2 separate regions of the Homo sapiens genome follow, and region 1 is linked to region 2. Evidence: promoter capture Hi-C in human tissues and cell types (Jung and others, 2019). All regions are on one chromosome and are shown on one strand. Each heading gives the region's core, a stretch centred on a gene start or on the middle of the fragment in contact. The rest is flanking DNA. Distances are from core to core; before and after follow the strand shown. Region 1 overlaps CR1 (complement C3b/C4b receptor 1 (Knops blood group)). Region 2 holds the start of C1orf116 (chromosome 1 open reading frame 116).

The links. Contacts are between HindIII fragments. The study calls those that stand out against the background at their distance.
Region 1: a fragment that was not itself captured here is called in contact with the fragment with the promoter of C1orf116 in region 2 in 1 of the 25 tissues and cell types used here (spleen).

What each region holds. Positions count from the first base shown.
Region 1 is chr1:207,623,733-207,629,711 of GRCh38, forward strand. All of the region lies in intron 45 of CR1 (complement C3b/C4b receptor 1 (Knops blood group)), which reads left to right. Among named protein-coding and RNA genes, the nearest start is that of CR1L, 18 kb to the right of the region's middle. The HindIII fragment of the contact is 5,483 bases long and covers 1,742-5,979 here.
Region 2 is chr1:207,030,095-207,035,284 of GRCh38, forward strand. C1orf116 (chromosome 1 open reading frame 116) reads right to left here and starts at 2,662. Exons shown (of 4, transcript NM_023938.6): 1 at 2,485-2,662. It also overlaps a transcript of PFKFB2 not described here. The HindIII fragment of the contact is 7,217 bases long and covers 1-5,190 here.

The DNA.
Region 1 (5,979 bases), core at 3,233-5,732, 600 kb after region 2:
TGCTAAGACATTGCAGACACTGACCTCTAAGCCCAGATCCTATCATAGCACTAGAAGTTAGATTGGGTCACTTATGGCACACATATCATATGGCACACATAGGCTGCCAGTGGGGAAGAATTGAAACTTTCCATTGGGTATTTTAATATATAAACAAATATTTTGTAAACACCATTAACTTTTTTTTTTTTTTTTTTTTTTTTTTTTTTTTAAGACCGAGTCTTGCTCTGTCACCCAGGCTGGAGTGCAGTGGCACGATCTTGGCTCACTGCAACCTCTGCCTCCCAGATTCAAGCGATTCTCATGCCTCAGCCTCCTGAGTAGCTGGGACTACAGCCATACGCCACTACACCAGGCTATTTTTTGTATTTTTAGTACAGAAAGGGTTTTGCCATCTTGGCCAGGCTGGTCTTGAATTCCTGACCTCAAGTGATCCACCCGCCTCAGCCTCCCAAAGTGCTGGGATTACAGGTGTGAGCCACTGGGCCCAGCCATCATTAATTTTTTAAATTTGAAAGAAAAAAAACTTGCAAAGACTAAGATCTGAATAAAGAAACGTCTTTGACAGGGAAGAGAACCTACACAGCTTTTGTACTGGTTGATTGAATTATAACAACCTCAATGAGGCCAGAATCAATAATATCAATGTTATATGGTTGATGAGCAAGTTCTATACCCATAGAAAAACTGAATTTGTAACTTTTAAGTGAACGGTTTTCTATAGCAAATATTCTAAACAAGTACAGTTTCCTACAACAAGCTTTACAGAAACTGAAGTTTTGATATTTCACAAAGATGCCAATATACTTTTTAAAAAGTAGTTTGTCATAGTAGATCTTGCTGTAAAGAACCTAGACAGGAACTCAATTTCATGGAAAAATACTGAATTGGTAGATATTTAAATTTAAATATCCATCCTTCCTAACTAATGTTCTCTATATTTTACGGCTTGACATATATTCTTTGCTCTTTTCCATTACAAAAAGAAAAGGTAAGTAGCTGGGCACTTTACCTTAACAAAGTACTTGTGTCAATACATTTTTCCTCTTAAAGTTTCTCATTAAGTACCATATAATTAGTGAGTTAATTTTTTAAAAAATTACTACTACGTCTGAATTAAAGGAGTTGGGGCTTCTAATTTTCTGTATCTATATCAGTCTCTAGTTAAAACCACACAGGGGAAATGATTATCCCTTCTTCTTGGAAGTATTCAAGATACTTTAATATCTTGAAGATATTTGATTATCTCCACCCTTCTAACTATGTCATTCTTCATTACTTATGGTCCATTCCTTGTTAATCAACTAGAGGGTCACACTCCCAAGCCTAACTATTGATTTGTTTCACCTACATAATTTAAGATCATTTCCTCATATTAATCACCTTCAGGCATAAACATGACTCAATAACCATTTCATAAAATTATTTCTTTGGAAATGATTGTCTTGTAAAGTCTAAGCAACCTGAGACCATATACCATTTCTTCATGTTTTCCATCTCGTAAAACCTGCCTCCTATTTTTTTCATATTCTTTAAAGTGTAATGTCCATGGCACAACCATTCTCTCTCTGACCAGTGGCTACCAGAAATGTGGCAGAAAGAAAGATCATGATCCTCGTTAGACTTAAAGGTCAGGGATGTAAACCTCCCAAACATCTATGTAACCCACACTAAAACCTATTCTATATGTGTAATCCAGGAAAGTTTTTAAACATTTTCTAAACTTTTACTTTTGACCTGTTTCACTTCTTGGGATTGTAACTGCCTGATGTGTTCTTCCTGCCTGTCATACAGACAAAACCAGTTCCCTGAGATAATGGCATATTGCAGTAAAGAAAGAGATGAATTAATACAAGGCCAGTCACGTGGAAGAACTGGAGTTATCACTCAACTCAGTCTCCCCAAGAACACAGGGGCTAGGGTTTTTATAGATCATTTGGTAGGAAGGGAGCTAGGGAATGGGTACTACTGATTGGTTGGGGATGGGGGTGTGGGAAATGTTCCTCATGTGCTGTGTCCACCTCTGGTTGGGGGCCACAGGACCAGTTGAGTCATGAGTCACAAGTCCAGGTAGAGTCAGTCAGTTGCCAAATGCAAAAACCTGAAAAACATCTCAGAAGACCAATCTTATATTCTACATAGTGATGTTATCTATAGGAGCAATTAGGGAAGTCACAAATCTCTGAGCAGTAATGGATTATAAAACCTATGCCTATATTTTAGCAGAGTTCAGGTCCCTCTCCTAATCCTAATCTCTTGGCCTTTCATTAGGTTTCAGGTCCTGAGCAAGGAGAGAGCTAGTTTTAGGAAGAGACTGTTATTATCCTTGCTCCAAAGTTACATTATAAACTAAATTCCTTTCATGGTTAGCTTGGCCTACACCCAGGAATGAGCAAAGCCGGCCCACCTGTGAGGCTAGAAGCAAGATGAAGTCAGCCATGTTAGATTTCTTTCACTCTCAGAATCTTTGCAAAGGTGGTTTCAGCATAGTGAGTGCATTTATCTAACAAAACACCACTGATTTTCATGTTAGAAATAACACATAGCTAAAACTGGGAAAAAGAAGTAATAAACTTAAATAATCAGAAGGCAGAGGTCCCTTCTTTCGGAAGGAGTTGGGCTGATTAATCATGCAGTCATACCTCCTTGAGTGGGTGTGGCCAATAAGCTAAGTCATTGTGGCTATGTGAGGAGGGCTGATTATTCCTTATCTGGAGCTCAAGCTTTCCTCACAGAAAGACAAGGGCATAAAGGGCCTCATGGCAAAGAAGAAGGAAGCCATGTGGGAAACACAGAATATGAGTGGAGAGTATCGTAGTGGTCACCAAGTCAGAAGAGCCATTTATCCTGGAGCTAAAAAAGACTGACAGATATAGAATAGTGTAGAACAAGATGGCCTGCTCTATGGGAGAGCCACAGTCACACCAGGCCTAGAGAGGTGCAGGCTGACTTCTACCTCAAACACTGGAGACAATTCAGAAGCTGCATAAGCAGTCTGAAGACTTACTAAGAAACTAAAATGAGGCTGGGTGCGATGGCTCAGGCCTGTAATCCCTGCACTTTGGGAGGCTGAGGCGGGTGGGTCACCTGAGGTCAGGAGTTGGAGATCAGCCTGGCCAAGATGGCAAAACCCTGTCTCTACTAAAAATACAAAAATTAGCCTGGTGTAGTGGCACATGCCTGTAGTCCCAGCTACTCAGGAGGCTGAGGCAGGAGAATTGCTTGAACCCAGGAGGTGGAGGTTGCAGTGAGTTGAGATTGTGCCACTGCACTCCAGCCTGGGCAACAAAGGCAAAACTCCATCTGAAAAACATAAATAAATAAATTAAATAAAATAAAACAAGAAAAGAAACTAAAGTGATAGAGAAATAGAAGGAATACACACACAGAAATGATCTCACCTTCTTTAAAATGCTCCTCAAGGAGGTCTACTTTAACTATCCTAGTAAAGATGACATGACCCCACCCCCACATTCCTAGTCTCTCTTATCCTGCTTTATTTTTTTCATAGCCTTATTCTCTTTTATTATAATTAATTAAATAATTACATTCCATGTTTATTCTCTCTCTCCCTCCATGAAGTCGGGGATTTTTGTCCTATCTTCACCAATGGATACACAACAAATCTAAACTGTCCCTGGGACAAAGAGAGTCTCAATAAATATTTATCAAATGAATGAGTGAGCTACACACCACTAACAGTGTTACCACAAGGGGAAATTTCTGCCGTAATTCTCTACCAAGTTGAACAGTGCGTCTTTAACTTGTCCTAAACTTACTCCAGGTTTCAAGGCTGCTCCTTGTTCTAATATACCAACTGTCTCAGTCTGTTGGTATATATACTTGGGCAGTTATAACAGAAACTCCATAGACTGGGTGGATTCAATAAGCATTTAAGCTGGGTGCAGTGGTACCTGCCTATAGTCCCAGCTATCTGGGAGGCTGAGGCAGGAGTACTGCTTGAGCCAATGAGTTTAAGGCCAGCCTGGGCAATATGGTAAGACCATGTCCCTAAAAAACATTATGTCATTTCTAAAAACCAAGCATTTTTTTCTCATAGTTCTAGTGGGTAGAGAGTCCAAGGTCAAGGCAACTGCAAATTCAGTGTCTGGTGGGGATCGCTTTCTAGTTAATAGACTTCAATCTTTTCTCCGTGTTCTCAAATCAGAGAAAAGGAGTAAAGGAGCTCTCCTGGTCTCTTTTCTAAGGGCACTAGTCCCATTCACAAGGGCTCTGCTCTCATGATCTAATTACTTCTCAAAGGTCTCACCTTTGAGATCCTATAGTAATTAGATCCTATAAATTTTCAACATATAAATTTGGAAAGATACAAACATTCAGTCCATTGTACCAACACTGCATTTGGTAAGCACATATGCTTAAACGATATCACACTTGATTTCATGTGCCTTCTCAATCCTCAGCTTTCCCTGATTAAGAATACCTAATTACTCTGCCCATTTCCTCTGCACCCTCCACCTTGGCCTTTCCACTCACTATTACTACTATCTCCTGCCTTCTTGGTCTCTACTATTCTCCTCACCATCCCTGCTCCCTGGACTATGATCCCCTGTGAGCAGGGACCACCTATATCCACCCAAAGCAATTTTTATTTAATGATTTTTTAATCTCTACTTGTACAGCAGTCAAAATTAATAATAAGAGTAGAAATGGTTAATGTATCTACAAAAAGAGTTAACATGTTTATTTATAGGTTTATTTACCATTTATTATCTTCTTTGGTCCTCAAAGCAACTCTGTGAGGTAGGTAGGCCCAATCATATTGTTATCCCAAAGCATAAAACACTCTAGGTTCAAAGAAATTCAGTGGCTTGTTTAAAGCCAGTAGGAAGTTGTTAGGAATTAGGCCTTTAGTCCAGATTATTTAACTGGAAATCTTGAACTCTTTGTGCTAGTATTTTGACAATGTTAGTTGCCATTTCTGAATCTGACTCTATATTACTGAAATTCAGTATCCAGAACTGTACATAGTACAAACCTAAAGTATTTTCCTTTTTTCTTTCAATATTCTTTTTCTCCCTATATTTTACTGAGTTTGTTTTAGCTACTTTGGTATATTGAACCAGTATCTTTCTAGAGAACCGTATGCAATCTCTACTTTTTTTACTCTTTATTCTGAGTCATTAGGCTATAAAAAATTAAGGTATTTCTTTAAGGGCATCTTTCCATATTGAGATTTCCTGGCGTTTCACACAGACTTGGCAAGTTCTTCCTGTGATTTAATCTCACTGCCTTGTTATTTCACTAGTTAAAAATATGCGCCTGCACGTTTTGATATTTCACTGTGTATTTACAACAATAATTTGTGATAATGTTAAATAAGATAGGTCATAAGATAGGTCATGCACTCATCAGTGAGGAATAATACTGGTTAGACTTCTTCATTCAGAGCCCATTATTGCCTCTTGTTACTGCCTCGTACCCACTCCCATTTCTACACAAAACAGCCTTGTACACAGTCAAAATTTCAAAGTTTCCATTGTTGTGATGTTTAGAATGATAAAATACTTAAGGCCATCCTCTGTGAAGTCTCCCTGAATTTTCCTATGTTCACATTAACCACCAGTAACTAACCAAATAGCTCTTCATTCAACATATACTCACCGAGATCATATTCTCCAAAACCCCATGTACCACTCATCACCCAAGACCACCTTCAGAACACTACTCATCTTACCACTTAACCACCACTCCTTGGAAGGTCATACCACCTGGCTATATACCACTCCACTCTTCCTCATCCATGGATCTCAAGTGTGCCTTCCCTGTCCTGTGAAAACTCTGCCCCCTGAAGCAGTCTGCCTCTTTTTCTCAAATGATGCTGTCATTCTAATTTCCATAAGATGGTAAAGAATAACTGAGTGATGAGGAAACAGTGGTACATGTTGAAGTGAGTTAACTCTTCAAGCTTCCATTCTAAAATCCCTAATACCAACTCATACATAAAATCTCCAGGTA
Region 2 (5,190 bases), core at 1,412-3,911:
AAAAGCACTGCTTCACAAGAACACAGCATGCCATAGCTTGCAAAGTACTCTCAGATATGCTAATTCGATCTTCAGCATAAACTGGAAACATAGGCAGGATGTGACGTTTTCTTCATTTTACGGGTGAGAAAGTTATGGCTCTTACCACTAGCCCTTCCTAAGGGAAACAGGGAATGACCTATACATGCATATACAGGGCAGCCCTCCACAGGGCATTTCAGGGACTATCTGGATGCAAGAGGGGCATGCCCCCGAGAATGGTTACTAGCCACCCCTGACTAAAATACTAAAAGCCTTAAAACCCCCTTCTCCTTCTACTTCATACCTTAAACCCTGCAAATCATCTGCTTCAGCTTTATACTTCCAGACCAGTGTATTGCCCCAACAGCAGATATTTCTACAGTAAAGAAATGACACCAACTGCCAAGGAAGATCATGTCTTTAGGGATTACATAATCCCTGCACAGAGGAATCTGAACCTGAAACCAAAGCTGAGCGAGGCGCTGTCACCTCATCTCCATACCTAGTTTTCTGACCTAAAGAATCTTAATGGTGAAAGCTGCATTTCCTTTCACCGACTTCACAACCTTGAACCTTGGGGCTCTTTCAGGGCAGCCATCGAAACCCTGATAAGAAGACTGAGAAACAAACAAAACACTCAAGGTGAGAGTTTGGTATCTTAACCCTTGACCTCTTTGGGAACTTAACGGGAGGAGGGAATGGGTTAAGAAATATGCAGCACCTATAGTCAGGGCCACCCATCCAAAGACACATTAAATATTAACTACACCACTGACTAAAATACTAAATACTGCCAAGCCTTGGAGGAGAGGAAATAAAGAACAGTTCAAGTTCTGGCATCTGGAGATGGTGGGGTGGGGAGAGGGCTCCAGCTCCATTCCAGGTTGGCTTGTCTGTACCTTCTAATCAGACCCAGGTCCCTCTCATCCTCCTCCCACGAACCCCCCACATGTCCTCCAAGAGCTTTGCCTCTCTGCCTACTAGTCAAAGAGGTTTCCTGTCTTTCAATCCAGGTGTCTTTGCTTCTTGTTGACTACCCAGAAATGTGCCTTGGGCTGGAAAATATCCTAAGAAAAATAGCAGAATGACTAAAACTTGCACAGTTTGCATATCTGTCTCCATGAACACATGGGCAAGTTTCTGTGTGTGTTTAGGCAACATTATCATCTTCCCTTTCACCAGTGTGTTTGAGGGAAGGAGCAGGTAGAAATACCCTCTGCATAGCAGAGCTTTGTTAGACACTGCCAGTGGTCTTTATTCCTAAATTCACCATCTAGGGCAGCCCTCAGTCTGTGAGTGTGGGGTGTTGGCTCTGTGGTGTGAGGTGAGCTCAAGCCTAAATCTCCAGTTGCCAGGACTGGAAAACCCATATATTCACTCAGGGCTGCGTGTGCCAGGCCCTTGAGCCTGGCACTGAGGGCTTCCCACTTCCCTCTTCTCTGCAGCAGGAGGAAAAGAGTCAAAGTTAGGGACCAAAGGGTTAAACCCCCCAAGATGGATAATGGAGAGGCAACTTGCTACTCTGACTCGACTCCTACATCTGCCTTCCTTCTGCAGGTAAATCTGCCACACAAACTGCCAACTGGGACACCTGCAGGAAAACAAACAAAGCCACCACCCTGGTCTGCTTCTCTGTCTGTGGACTCTGCCACACTACCTTGGCTTGAGCCCCACTTGGAACTCTAACTAGACTTGACATGCAGCCACGAAATATTCATGTGGGTGAGGCTCGGCACAGCCAGGTAGCTTTCTGTTTGCCAGTCTCTGTGTCTATTAACAGGCTGAGTCAGAAAGTTAATTGAGTAGAATCCAAATAAACTTGACTTTGCAGCTAGATTATCCATGGGTTTTCCAAAGATGAGCTGGTAGCTGAAGTTTTCTCCATGTGCCCCAACCTCATATCCCTTTACAAACAACCTAGTACAGCTCATGCCTAACACACCTGTACACAGAGAGCTCCATTATCACATGAGCATGATCAAACACACACACACATTGCACCCATTATTTAAATAAAGATCGACACCGAGTTGGTAAAGCCACGGGAGAATTTCCTGTTACAGTCGCTATGGAAAACCAAGATACTCTCCCCCATTTTGACTCCCTCTATTTCAACTGTTCTTTTCTAAAATCACAACTCAATTTCAATTGTTCAGAGATGGAAATTTCCAAAACAAATCTATTTTCTTTTTCTTGTTGTTTGCACAATATGCCTATCCAACCTAAAGGGATAAATGAAAAAGAAGGTGCCTCCCAGCCCCAGTCTCCACAAAAACACTACAATCTCAAGTTGCTACCAACCTGATCTGATCCCAGAATGGACTCAGAGAATTGAGGAACAGAGAGGAAATCTCCCTAGCTGGGGTATAGAGGGACACCTCCCCTCCCCTGTAGCTCTGATTTCCCATGAAACCCCTTCCTATTGCTATAGGATAAGCAATAGTTGGTTAGTGATTAACTCACCTCCACTGGGTTGGGGGCTGAAGAGAGAAAAGAAATACCCTTTTGTTTCAAAGGGCAGAGATGGAGACAGAGGCTGCTTCCCCTGCCTCCTACTGTTTTCTTCTCCTTTTGAGCTCCTCCTGACTTACCTAGATAGGTAAATGCTTCATCTGTGCTGCCTGGCCCCCACCCTGCCACTGACTCAGCCAATCCTAGCCTCCCCTCCCTACCTCTCATTCCAGCTGTTTCCTCAGGGAGGGAATGGGAGGGGAATGAGCAGGGTGGTGCTGTTCCCTCTTAGCCAATCATCTCCTACCCTCCCCTTTCCTGTTTAGAGCTAATAAAGAGCTCTTTAAAAAAGGAGGGCTGGAAGGAGGAGGAGCCGGTTTGGGCTGAGACTGGAAGGACAGGTGGCAGGGAGGGAGTAGGCAGAGATAGTATATATATTTAATGTTGATATAAAGGAACGCAGACAGTCCTCTGGGCAGTGTGCTTTTCCATAGGTCTATGTGAAACAGGTTTTTCATCTAGAACTACCTTCTTCCGCTTGGAGCTTAGTTTTCCCCTGAATTCTCTAGGCTAAACTCATTTGTGTTCAGTTTTGCTGCTAGCTTTTCTAGATGTTGAAAGTCACTTTCTTCCCCAAGCCTAATCCTAGCTCATAAGCCTAGCAATTCCATTCATGTCCACTGAAGAAGGTGTCCCCAGGCTAGGGATGCTGTAGTTGGGCCAGTCTCGCCCCAGTGCTTGCCAACAATCTCCTTGGCCTAATTTATTTCTGGGGGAAATAAAACCATTCATCCCCTAAGAGGTCCGTGTCCTGATGAAAGAGTGACTGGACAGCTTGAAAGGAGAGAGCATGCACTCTGTCATTTGGTCCTCTGCTCTCTTTTGGCTGTTCATGGAAGGTGGCAATACATATTATGAAATAAAAACAAAACAAACTACCAACCAGTTTAGCAACTCTTGTCTCCTTTCATGGACTGATACTTGGCATTCGTAGGGAGAAGAGAGTAGGTAGAAGAATCTACTATTTTTGGGAAGAAATTTCCCACCAGGTACAGAGACCACTCTTAACAGATATGATTTTTGCCTGGAAGCTGGTTTTTCCTACAGGTAGATTATCCTTGATAGGTATCAGGATTTGAGGTATTCCACTTACTAGCATTAAAAGGTCAGGGAGAAAATTTAAAATCAATGTACACAATAATTGCCAAAATGTATTAAGCTCTTGCTATTTGCTAGGTATTGTGCTGAGCATTTTCATGTATCTTTTAATTTAGTCTTTAACTTAAAAAAGTAGGCATTTGTTAATATCTAAATTTTACAGGGAGGTTAAAAATCTTTTTCAAGGCCATGTAGCTAGGAAGAGGCAGGGCAGAGATTTTAATTCAGGCAGTATAACATCAAGGTTGCTATGAATCAGCATAATGCCAATCCGCCTCTATTTTGGAAGGAATCTCAAGTGGGAATCATGAAATACACAGATAATTTGCAAGTGTAATTCTAGCTATTAGATTCGTCCTTTTCTGTTTCATTTCCTACTTAAAGCTATTAATATGTTTTATAACAAGACGACACATGGCTTTCATCTTTTCTCTTTCTGTGATCATGGTTGGATAGGAAATAAAAAGGGCAGTGATCCTGGGGCCAAGGTAAAGATGAAGTGGAGCAGGACTAATGGATAGGAAGGAGGTTGGAGGAAGCCTGGGATAACCCAGTACCCTATCAGCAGCCTATGGATATCACAGCTGAATGAGCACTTCGGGCTATGACCTCTTTCCCTGGTGTGTCATTCAAACATATATGATGTCATAATACTAACAAAACAGGAAGGGCATCTCCAAATCAGCAGTTCAGTGCAACCAGAGTCACACCCATGGATGAAGTCAATGAAGTTGATCCAGCTCCATAGGTGTGTGATTTGAACATTTGCTAAAAAAATGAATTGACTTATGAGAATTAACTTCCAAGAGGATAGTAGGCAACAGTCTTATTTGTGAACAGACACAGTTTTTCAGTTATAATAAAATTAGGATAACTAGGAGGAACCCCTATCTTTTACCAGGTAGAAGCAGGGACATAGACAAAAATCATCTTTCCCTTCCTCCCTTTCCTCTCAAAAACTTTTTCTTTTTGTAAATTATGAAATATTTCAGATACACTGACATAACAAACATAACCGTACCTAACATCCAGTTCAGGAAATAAAACATAAACATCACAGTCGAAGTTACTTACAAGCCTTGAGCCTCCCCTCCCTGCAAACACATATATGTCCTAGCTGAAATAAATCACTATTTCAAATTTTCTTTTTTCCATTCTCCATGTACTTAAATGTTTTCCCTGGAATTCATATTGTTTTTGCTTTGTTTTATTTTTGCTTAGAAATATACCAAGTCTCTAACATTCCAAGAGAGTTGGAAAGGAGGCCTGGACTACAGAAAAGGGAGGATTTCCAAAGTCAGTCAAAAGCCTGAAAGAATAAGACTTCCTGGTTGATATAGGTCATCATTTGAGGGGGTATGTGTGTCATTGCTCTTAGTATGTAAATGCCTGTTTGATGACCAGACTCTGTGGAAACTAATTACAGCCCAGCTCACCTGACTCATCTGTTCTCTCCTTCTCCATTCTTGCATGCTGTTGTGGTCATCTCTTTGACTGTCAGAGGCTAGTTTATGATTTCCTTTCTCAGTACAACCTCCCCACTTAGGCACCTCCCTTCCC